3 separate regions of the Homo sapiens genome follow, and regions 2 and 3 are each linked to region 1. Evidence: promoter capture Hi-C in human tissues and cell types (Jung and others, 2019). All regions are on one chromosome and are shown on one strand. The core of a region is centred on a gene start or on the middle of the fragment in contact, and the rest is flanking DNA. Distances in the headings are between cores, read along the strand shown. Region 1 holds the start of TUBA8 (tubulin alpha 8). Region 2 overlaps BCL2L13 (BCL2 like 13). Region 3 overlaps BCL2L13 (BCL2 like 13).

The links. Contacts are between HindIII fragments. The study calls those that stand out against the background at their distance.
Region 2: a fragment that was not itself captured here is called in contact with the fragment with the promoter of TUBA8 in region 1 in 1 of the 25 tissues and cell types used here (dorsolateral prefrontal cortex).
Region 3: a fragment that was not itself captured here is called in contact with the fragment with the promoter of TUBA8 in region 1 in 1 of the 25 tissues and cell types used here (dorsolateral prefrontal cortex).

Annotation. Positions count from the first base shown.
Region 1 is chr22:18,109,062-18,112,587 of GRCh38, reverse strand. It overlaps TUBA8 (tubulin alpha 8), which reads right to left and starts at 1,779. Exons shown (of 5, transcript NM_018943.3): 1 at 1,720-1,779. The coding sequence starts at 1,722. RefSeq lists a silencer at 1,613-2,002 and an enhancer at 2,083-2,282. The HindIII fragment of the contact is 17,974 bases long and covers 1-3,526 here.
Region 2 is chr22:17,638,824-17,642,349 of GRCh38, reverse strand. BCL2L13 (BCL2 like 13) reads right to left here. Exons shown (of 7, transcript NM_015367.4): 1 at 3,464-3,526. It also overlaps the pseudogene LOC124905160. Among named protein-coding and RNA genes, the nearest start is that of BCL2L13, 1.8 kb to the right of the region's middle. RefSeq lists enhancers at 2,711-3,526, 3,352-3,526. The HindIII fragment of the contact is 6,703 bases long and covers 1-3,526 here.
Region 3 is chr22:17,708,774-17,712,299 of GRCh38, reverse strand. The region is part of intron 6 of BCL2L13 (BCL2 like 13); the gene reads right to left. Among named protein-coding and RNA genes, the nearest start is that of MIR3198-1, 54 kb to the left of the region's middle. The HindIII fragment of the contact is 6,813 bases long and covers 1-3,526 here.

The DNA.
Region 1 (3,526 bases), core at 530-3,029:
CACACATTCAAGCTTGTGCACAGGGCTGGGTTAAGATCCTCGACACGCCCCTGTAAACATCCTCTGGGCTCCACTCTGTACCACAATGGCATTCAGATCCAAATTAAAGCATGCAAGGGAAGCACTTGGAAAATCCTAAAACACTAGCTACCTGCTAGATATTATAAATATTAAATATCAATTCTAGAGTATGCAGCCTAGCATTTGCTTCAAAATTATGGAGGGAGGGAATAAATGAAGTGAGACAGGTCAGAAGTTGGTAATTATTGAACTTAGATGATGTATATAATCGCTAATTATACCATTTGCTCTCCGTTTGCATATGTTTGAAATTCCCTACCATAAAAAGTTTAAAAATAATGAAATCTAAGTGGAGTCTTGGAAATTTGAATTATAACCCTCTTCATTTCGCAGGTAAAACAAACACATCCAGAGAGGTTAAGTGACCTTCCTGAAGTCACACAGCTAGCTGCAGAGCCAGGAGTCAAAATTCTGAACTGGCAGCTCCGGGCCCTTTGTGTGGCCTCATACCAGGGTCCTCAGGCAGAAATAGGTTCCTGTGGCCACCCTCCCTAATATTCCCAAGTTCTTTCAGTTCCCAGGGGTGTCTGGGAGCCCGCTAGGAGGAGGGAGGGTGCTGACAAAACTGAAGCTGGAAGGCTAGAGCTCCGGGGGAGCCAGGAGGCCCTGGGCACGGGCCAAACGTAACAGGGCGGGGCGGAGGGGGTTCTCGCCTGCTTTCTGGATCACTGACACCTGGAGCAAGCCTGCCCAGGGAACCCGACCTTGGCCATGACATAGGCTTATTCTGCCCTCACTCTGCCCCCAATCTTTCCAGCCCATCTCCCTACTGCTGAAAGATCAGGGGTCCAGGAGGGATTCCTGGGATTCTGGGCTTTGGGAAAGTGGACTGGGGGCAAATGTTAACCACCAGGGGCACTGGGGGCGGAGAGGGGGACCCTAGAAAGAGGAACTGAGTGTTTGCAGCCGCCCCTCAGTAAGATCCAGGGGCGGGGGCAGGGAAGGGAGCAGCCGCGATCCCCCTAAGCCAGGGTAGGAAACAGGTCGAAGGTCCCCTGGCCTTTGGAAGCAGAGACTTCTTACTCCCAAAGTCCTTCGACTCTGACCGCTGGAAAGACTTGGGAGCTGCTGAGTGCGCCCGGAGGACCCCGCCGCGCTGGGGCTGTGCGTGCAGCAAACCCAAGCCGCTGGCCAGGCTTGCGAGAAAGACCTCCACGCGTGGGGGGACCGTGGCGCCCTAGGTCCTCTGTCACATTCCGGGCCCTGTCACATTAGGCTGGGTTCGGAGACGTGACTGCATCTGGCCCCCCAGTCGCCCCGGCCCAGACCACCCATCCAGAATCCCCGGACTCGCCCTTCTCTCCACTCTGTCCACAGGCTGCCCATCTGGGGACCCCAGAATCTCGCCCCCTTCTCCGTCGGGCTCCCCAGGGCCTCCCTCCCCCTCGTCTGCACGCAAAGCTCCCTTAGGTCCCTTTAAGGAACAACTGGCCCCTGGTCTCTATTTCCCCCATACGATAAAGGGCACCGGGTGTTCCCGCCCGAGGGTGCGGACTCCTCGACCCTGAACTGCCACCCCCAGAAGGCCTTGAGCCCTGCGGCTCCAGGAAGACGGGTCCGTGCGCCTCCGCGTAGACTCGGCTCTCGGTCCTACGCCTGCCGCGCGCCCGCAGCCCGCCTGGCCCCGGGAAGCCTCACCATCGCTGCCGCTGTCCTCGCCCGCGCACCTCTCAGCTGGGCCTGCCCGCCCCGACTGCTCCAGATACAGCCGCCTCCGCCGTTGTGACACACCGGGAGGGGGGGACGCCGGGGACAGGCGCGCCGGGCCCGCAGCTGCCCCCCGGCATCACAGTGCCGGGGAGGGGCGGGCAGGTCACAAAGGCCCCTCCCCGCCCACCCGCGGCTCAAATCTCCGGGTCCTCGGTCCCGCCTCAGCAGCCGGGGGCGCTCGCAGCGGGGACTGCGCCCGCGGGGGAGGCTGCCCTATTACCAAAGCGCACGTGTCCACGTTCCAACACCGCCGGCGAGAGCAGCCTTCGTGACCCCAGCTGCCGGAGAAAGAAATGTAAAATGCAGCCAGGCGAATCGCGCGGGTCTCCCCAAACTTCCGTTCTCCTCCGACCCGCTGGAAAGGCTCCTGACTGGGGTGCAGCTGACCGGAGCGGGCTGCAGCGGGCCCGGGTGCCAAGGTGCCGTCTCAGCTGGGCGCCCTAGGGCCGTGTGTGCTTGGCAAGCTGCAGGGCCTCTGCTCCCAAAGCCTGTGCCTCCTGCCGCCAAGGCCCGCCTGGTTGCTGGAGACGGAAATGAGATGGCATACACAGAGCTCCTGGTACAGGCAGGTGCTGAAGACTGTTCCCGTTTTTACCCTCTCCCCGGATACCTCGCACCTCCACCGGGATTTTCAAATCTCCCCCCTTGATCCCTTCCTACTTTTAAGCCCCAAACGTGTCCAAGTCACATCTCCTATGTAATCCAGAACTCATACCAGGGTTCCCCTGCCTCTGCCCAGTAGTAAGACCCGCCAGATGCTGTTGGTTGCCCCCTGCTCGGGAAGGGGTGGGCACTTGGTAAAAGCCCCTCTTCACACTTTAGATGTTGGCCACGTTGTCACCCTGCCCATCTCCCCTCACTTCCCCCCAGGTGGGTGAGGGGCTGGATGGTCTTTGTTCCTTGTTCTCACTGCTGTTTCTTGTTCTTTCCCTCCAGTGGTCAGTTCCATTCATGTTGAAAGGTGTACCCCAGCCTCTCTCTTCCACTTTCCTCAGCACCAAGCCAACGCAGGCAAATTCATAGGTTTTCCTTAAGACAATACCACTTTAGCCAGACGTGGTAACTCCCCAAGTTTCCAAGCACAGTTAGAGATCTTCCTACCCTTCTGCTCCTAAGACATGCCTGCTTGTGGCCAATAGAGAATGAGAGCAGATTTCTGCTTACCTATGCGGCAATCTGTTCTGTTGGCCACCCATTCATAAACGATAGTACATGTGTCGTAATCATCTTTGCATTTGAGAGAGTACCAAACACAGTGCTTTACCCACTGATACAAACGGTACTTAGTAAAGCATGCGTTGAATTTTTGTCTATCTTATAATGTAAGATCCTGACAATTAAGACTCAGGATTAAGCTAATTGTGCCAAGCACATGATAAATGGTCAATAAAGGATTTTGGTTATTAGTATAACTCTATGTGTATTTCTCTTCCAAACTCTCCCATAGCATATTCTATTACTTCTTCCATAGCATTTCTTTTATTTTTTATTTTTTTTGATGGAGTCTTGCTCTGTCGCCCAGGCTGGAGTGCGGTGGTGTGATCTAGGCTCACTGCAACCTCCGCCTCCCGGGTTCAAGTGATTCTCCTGCCTCAGCCTCCCGAGTAGCTGGGACTACAGGCGCGTGCCACCACGCTCGGCTAATTTTTTGTATTTTTAGTAGAGACGGGGTTTCACCGTGTTACCCAGGATGGTCTCAATCTCCTGACCTTGTGATCCACCCATCTTGGCCTCC
Region 2 (3,526 bases), core at 497-2,996, 470 kb after region 1:
CCGTCTCTACTAAAAATACAAAAATTAGCTGGGTGTGGTGGCACGCACCTGTAATCCCAGCTACTCTGAGTTACAGTTACTGAGACTGAGTTACAGTCTCAGTCTACTTTGGGACTGAGTTAGGTTCAACCTGGGAGTCCGAGGTTGCAGTGGGATCATGCCACTGCACTCCAGCCTGGCGACAGTGAGACTCCGTCTCAAAAAAAAAAAAAAAAAAAAAGAGAGAAGCCAGACACAAAAGACCACATATTGGTCAGGCGCGGTGGCACACACCTGTAATCCCAGCACTTTGGGAGGCCGACATGGGCAGATAATAAGGTCAGGAGATGGAGACCATCCTGGCTAACACAGTGAAACCCCGTCTTTACTAAAAATACAAAAAATCAGCCGGGCGTGGTGGCGGGCGCCTGTAGTCCCAGCTACTCAGGAGGCTGAGGCAAGAGAATGGCGTCAACCCGGGAGGCGGAGCTTGCAGTGAGTCGAGATGGCACCACTGCACTCCAGCCTGGGCGACAGAGTGAGACTCATTCTCAAAAAAAAAAAAAAAAAAACACATATTATGTGATCCCATTTTTGTGAAATCTCCAGAATAGGCAAATCCATAGACAGAAAGTAGATCAGTGGTTGCCCAAGGGTGGGGGTAGGAGGACCAGTAATAAAGAATGACTGCTAATGGGTATGGGAGTCTCTTTTTGAGGTGATGAAAATGATTGTGGTGGTGGGTGCACAACTCTGTGAATATACTAAAAAGTACTGAATTGTACAATGGTGAGTTGTATGGTACGTTAATTATATGTCAATAAAGTTGTTAAAAAAAATCAGCTACTCCAATCCTTTTGCGGTTCATAAAGAACCAAGATGACTGGGTTTCATGCTAATGCATGACATGTGCCTCCCTCAAATCATGTTGCCTCATGGGCTTATTGGCACATTACCGTCTGAGGAAGAACAAGAAAAAAAAATAAACCAATCTGAAAATACCACCCACCCCCACTTTGTATATATATTAAACAAGAACTCTTGGTGAACATTTATTTGGAATAAGATACAAATCAAAATCCTGTCTAAAAAATGATAAATGCAGACTGGAACTAAGTGAATGTTTAACACTTGTGTTTTGTATGCCTGAAGTATTTCACAATAAAATACATATCTATTTAGGCCGGGCGCAGTGGCTCATGCCTGTAATCCCAGCACTTTGGGAGGCCGAGGCGGGCAGATCGCGAGGTCAGGAGATCGAGACCATCCTGGCTAACACGGTGAAACCCCGTCTCTACTAAAAATACAAAAAATTAGCCTGTCGCGGTGGCGGGCACCTGTAGTCCCAGCTACTCGGGAGGCTGAGGCAGGAGAATGGTGTGAACTCAGGAGGCAGAGCTTGCAGTGAGCCGAGATCGTGTCATTGCACTCCAGCCTGGGCGACAGAGCGACACTCCGCCTCAAAAAAAAAATATATATATATATATAAAAAATTAATAAACAAACATATATATATTTTTTGAGTCAGGGTCTCTGTCATCCAGACTGAAGTACAGTGGAGCAATCACAGCTCACAGCAGCCTTGATCTCCCGGGCTCAAGCAGTCCTCCCTCTCGCCTCAGTCTTCCAAGTAGCTGGGACCTATGCCTGGCTAATTTTTTTTTTTTTTAATTTTTTGTGAAGACAAGGTCTCCTTATGTTGCCCAGGCTGGTCTCGAACTCCCGGGCTCAAGCAATGCTCCTGCCTGAGCCTCCCAAAGTGCTGGGATTACAGTGAGCCATCGCAAACAGCCAAATGAAATGTTGTTAATGATTATTACTGTTGCAAACCACTTGTCCTAAAAGCTTAATGTGTGTGATATTTAATACATGTTGATTAGATTATGTGCTAGTAAACACAAGTCTGTTTTTTTACAAGACTGGTTAGATATAGCCTTAGGCATCTTTCAATTGAATTCAACTACTGGTCCTTGCTGTAGGAGACAACTAAAAATAAAATAAAAAGTGAATCCAACTACTGAATATACTCTTCCACATAAAAAATGAGCCATTGGAAAAAAAATACAGAACAGTACCTGACCATTCCTAGTAAAAAGATTTTCAATACCCTTAACTGCCTATTACCAAATGAAGAATACTTCACTTGGGGGAGAGAGGGTGTTAAAAATGAAAATAATACTTCATGCGGTGGCGCGGGGGTGGTTGAAAAAAAGGTATCACCGTGCGCGGTGGCTCACGCCTGTAATCCCAACACTTTGGGAGGCTGAGGCGGGGGGATGACCAGAGATTGGGAGTTCGAGACCATCCTGACCAACATGATGAAACCCCGTCTCTACTAAAAATACAAAATTAGCCCCGCGTGGTGGCGCATGCCTGTAATCCCAGCTACTCGGGAGGCTGAGGCAGGAGAATGGCTTGAACCCAGGAGGCGGAGGTTGCGGTAAGCTGAGATCGCGCCATTGCACTCCAGCCTAGGCAACAAGAGGGAAACTCTGTCTCAAAAAAAAAAAAAAAGAAAGAAGGTATCTGAAGGGTGTGGCAACTCATCCAAGGTCACACTAGTCAGGGCAGAGAGCAACATTCTGCTTTATACTAAACCTCCAGAGGAAATCTTATAATTTCGCCAAAGAAGTTTTTGTTTTGTTTTACGCAACAACAACAAAAAAATAAAAGTAAGGAGGGAGGGCTCTCAGCTTAGTTCAAACTTCTAAACAGAGACAGTGAGATAGCTATTTTGAATAAACAAACACTTGTGCAGGGAGTGGCTAAGAGCTAACCAAAGCCAGCAGTCAACAGCATGTGAACAACTGGCCAGATCCGTCCGATTTTCAACGCTAGGTTAGAGCCTCCACTCAGAAAGTCGGTTATGAAGGCAAGAAATAGGATCTTTACAGAATGTTGGGAGGATAAATCAAAGGGGGAAAATGACTCCGTGTGAACTGTACTGCCTCCAAGGGCAAGAAGGCAGTTTTTTTCTGAAAAAATAGGTGTCAGAACAGCAGTGAATTAAGGTTAAGAAACAAGACTTCTAACAATCTCTGAGAAGAAACGACTAAGACTGGCAAAGCTAATCTTCCAGTGTTCTAAGTGAATCGCAGGAAAACCTTTCCCTCAACCAAAAAGAAGTCGCCGTTCCCCAGTTTAGCCCTAAAAATGGACCCGGGTTTTCCACGTGAAGCTGTCTGTGGGGAAGGACAGCGGCGTGGAGCCAGGGCCGAGCTCCTCCGCCTCCGGCACCCCACGCCGGAAGAAGCCTGCTCAGCGGCGGGGCCGCGCGGCCAGGTCCGGTCACGGTGAAGCGGACCCCTAAGCTCCGAGCACCTTCGGGCGAAGGAGCGCCGGTGTAGACACACACACTCAAACTCACGCGTCGTCGGAACCACTGGGGAGTCGGTGGCTCGATACGGTCTCTGGGCACTTTCCTACCCAGGTGAAAACCACCTCCTCACCCAGCTCAGCCTTCCCGGAACCCCACTCCCCTCACCTGGCCCTGGCCCCTGCCCCAGAAGAGATGAAAGAGGCGGCGGCGGCAGTTGCTTCCGACAGG
Region 3 (3,526 bases), core at 621-3,120, 400 kb after region 1:
TTAAACTTTTTTCATTATTGAAACTATCAACATTTTAAAACTAGGCTAAGTCTTTTTGTTAAATGAAGAACAAGTTGGGAAAGTTAATATACAATACTGAGTAAATCTGTCACAGTCTCACCATGAGAAGATCATCCAATTTTATCAAATAATTTGCATTTCAGAGTTACGAAAAATAGTCAAAGAACATCAGTTACTTCACTACAAGTGGCTTAAAACAGTGTACTCTTCCTAGTCTTTCACTTACATTAAAAATTTACACCAAAAAAAAAAAACCTTCAAAAAACGTTATTAAACTCCCACCTCCAAACTTGAGTTACCTGGAGACAAGGAACATAATTTCTTATGTTCTTTATTCTTAATCTTGGAGTCACCTCTGCTCTCACTTTCTATTCATACTATACAAGTTTTGTAATCTGTTTTCATGCCATGTCAAAAGATGTGCCTTACAATTACACAGTTCTTCAAACAGAAGGGTCATCCAGTGATCAGAGAGGTCTCAAGTGACAACTGATAGGAATTCTCAACAGGTTACTTACCTGCACTTCTAAAAACAGAGCCTCTAATAGCAGTAACTGATTAAATAAGCAAAAACAAAAACAAGAGTCATAACGAAAACACTAAGAATTTTAGTTCTCAGTAAACAGACCTTTAGGGCTCTAAGCCAAGTAAGTAAAATGGAAATTTCAAAAGTACCATCATGGCTGGGTGTGGTGGCTCACGCCTGTAACCTTAGCACTCTGGGAGGCAGAGGCAGGCAATCACTTGAGCCCAGGATTTTGTGACCAGCCTGGGCAGCATGGCAAAATTGCACCTCTACAAAAACATACAAAAATTAGTTGAGTGTGGTGGTGCATGCCTGTGGTCCCAGCTACTCAAGAGGCTGAGGTGGGAGGATCGTTTGAGCCCAGGAGGTAAAGGATGCAGTGAGCCGAGATTGTGCCACTGCGCTCCAGCCTGGCCAACAGAGTGAAACCCTGTCTCAAAAAAAAAAAGGCCCATCATGAAGAAATAAGGGAAAAGTCAACAAACTGAAAATTAAAAGTAAAATGTCTCTTCCTCTTATGATTATTTTTTAATGAGGGTCTCACTCTGTCACCCAGGGGCTACAGTGCAGTGGCATAATCGTAACTCACTACAGCCTGAAAATCCTGGGCTCAATAGATCCTCCCACCTCAGCCTCTTGAGTTGCTGGGATTACAGGCATGAGCCACCGCACCACCACGCCTGGCTTTTCCCCTTATTTTTAACAGCTCAAAGTTAACAAAAGATTGAAGAACGTTCTTTGTTCCACATCTAGAGGATCTTTTCATCTCATCTAAGACATTAGATCAAGTTTGTCTGATCACAACTTTGGCGTAATATATTGTTTAAAAGCCAATTCAGATTTATTTATTTATTTTTTTTTATTTTTATTTTTTTTGAGACGGAGTCTCGCTCTGTCGCCCAGCCTAGAGTGCAGTGGCTCGATCTTGACTCACTGCAAGCTCCGCCTCTTGGATTCATACCATTCTCCTGCCTCAGCCTCCCGAGTAGCTGGAACTATGGGTGCCCACCACCACGCCCGGCTAATTTTTTTGTATTTTTAGTAGAGACGGGGTTTCACCGTGTTAGCCAGGATGGTCTCGATCTCCTGACCTCGTGATCTGCCCACCTCGGCCTCCCAAAGTGCTGGGATTACAGGCATTTATTTATTTTTTATTTTTATTTACTTTTTTTTGAGACAGAGTCTTGCTCTGTCACCCAGGCTGGAGTGCAGTGGCGTGATCTCAGCTCACCGCAACCTCCGCCTCCCAAGTTCAAGCGATTCCCCTGCCTCAGCCTCCGGAGCAGCTAAGATTACAGGTGTGCGCCACCATGCCCGGAGAATTTTTTTTTTTAATTTTTAGTAGAGACAGGGATTCACCATGTTGCTGGTCTCAAAGTCCTGACCTCAAATGATCTGCCTGCCTCGGCCTCCCGAAGTGCTGGGATTACAGGTGTGAGCCACTGCACCCGGCCAATTCAGATTAAATAGCTTTATGTCTTGCTGTCATGGCCTCCCTACCTTACAATGTATTTCTGTATTTAGGACGTGACATTTTAATGAAGATTCACTGAACATTCTGTGCTGTTATGTAAGAAGTCTTACAAGAAAGAACAGATTACTAAGCTTTTACTCCTGGGGACCAATTCACATAAAACAAAAATATAAAAATAGCAGCCTCTTTTTTTTTTTTTTTTTTTTTTTTTAAGACAAGGTCTTACTGTTACCCAGGCTGGAGGTCAGTGGCGCAATCTTGGCTTACTGCAGCCTTGACCTCCCAGGCTCAAGTGATCCTCCTGCCTCAGCCTCCTGAGTAAATGGGACCACAGATTACTTCCAGTTAATTTTTATATTTTTTGTAGAGATGGGCTCTCACTCACCATGTTGCCCAGGCTGGTCTTGAGCTCCTGGACTTGGGCAATCTGCCTGCCTCGGCCTCCCAAAGTGCTGGGATTACAGGAGTGAGCCACTGCACCCGGTCAATGTTTTCTTTTGTTTTAATAGCACTCTGTTGCCTAGGCTGGAGTGCAGCAGCACAATCTCAGCTCCTGGGTTCTGCAACCTGGGTTCAAGAGATTCTCCTGCCTCAGCCACCTGAGTAGTTGGGATTACAGGAACCCACCACCATGCCTGGCTAATCTTTCTATTTTTTATTTCATTTATTTATTTATCTTTCCTGAGACAGAGTCTCTCTCTGTTCACCCAGGTTGGAGCGCAGAGGCACAATCCTGGTTCACTGCAACCTCCGCCTCCTGGGTTCAAGCAATTCTCCTGCCTCAGCCTCCCGAGTTGCTGGGACTACAGGCATGCACGACCATGCCTGGCTAATTTTTGTATTTTTCATAGAGATGGGGTTTCACCACGTTGGCCAGGCTGGTCTCGAACTCCGGACTTCAGGTGATCTGCCCACCTTGGCCTCCCAAAGTGTTGGGATTACAGGCGTGAGCCACCACGTCCAGCCTCAGTTTTATATTTTTGAGACAGGGTTTTGCCATGTCACCGGGCTGGAGCCTCTTTTTTTTGTTTTGTTTTGTTTTTGAGATGGAGTCTCACTCTGTCGCCCAGGCTGGAGTGCAGTGGCGCAGTCTTGGCTCACTGCAACCTCTGCCTCCTGGGTTCACGCCATTCTCCTGCCTCAGCCTCCCGAGTAGCTGGGACTACAGGTGCCTGCCACCACGCCCAGCTAATTTTTTGTATTTTTTAGTAGAGACGGGGTTTCACCGTGTTAGTCAGGATGGTCTCGATCTCCTGACCTTGTGAGTCACCCACCTCGGCCTCCCAAAGTGCTGGTATTACAGGCGTTAGCCACCATGCTCGGCCGAGCCTCTCTTAATAATTAATGTCATAATGAAGAGCAGGCTTTCACTAAAAGAAAAAGAGCTGTTTTGGATAATATATTACTTACAACTTATCATATTAGAAGAATAATATCTACAAGTAGCCTCGGAACCATTCTAACAATCTAAATAGTTTTTAATACAAAATATTTGTGTTGTTGAG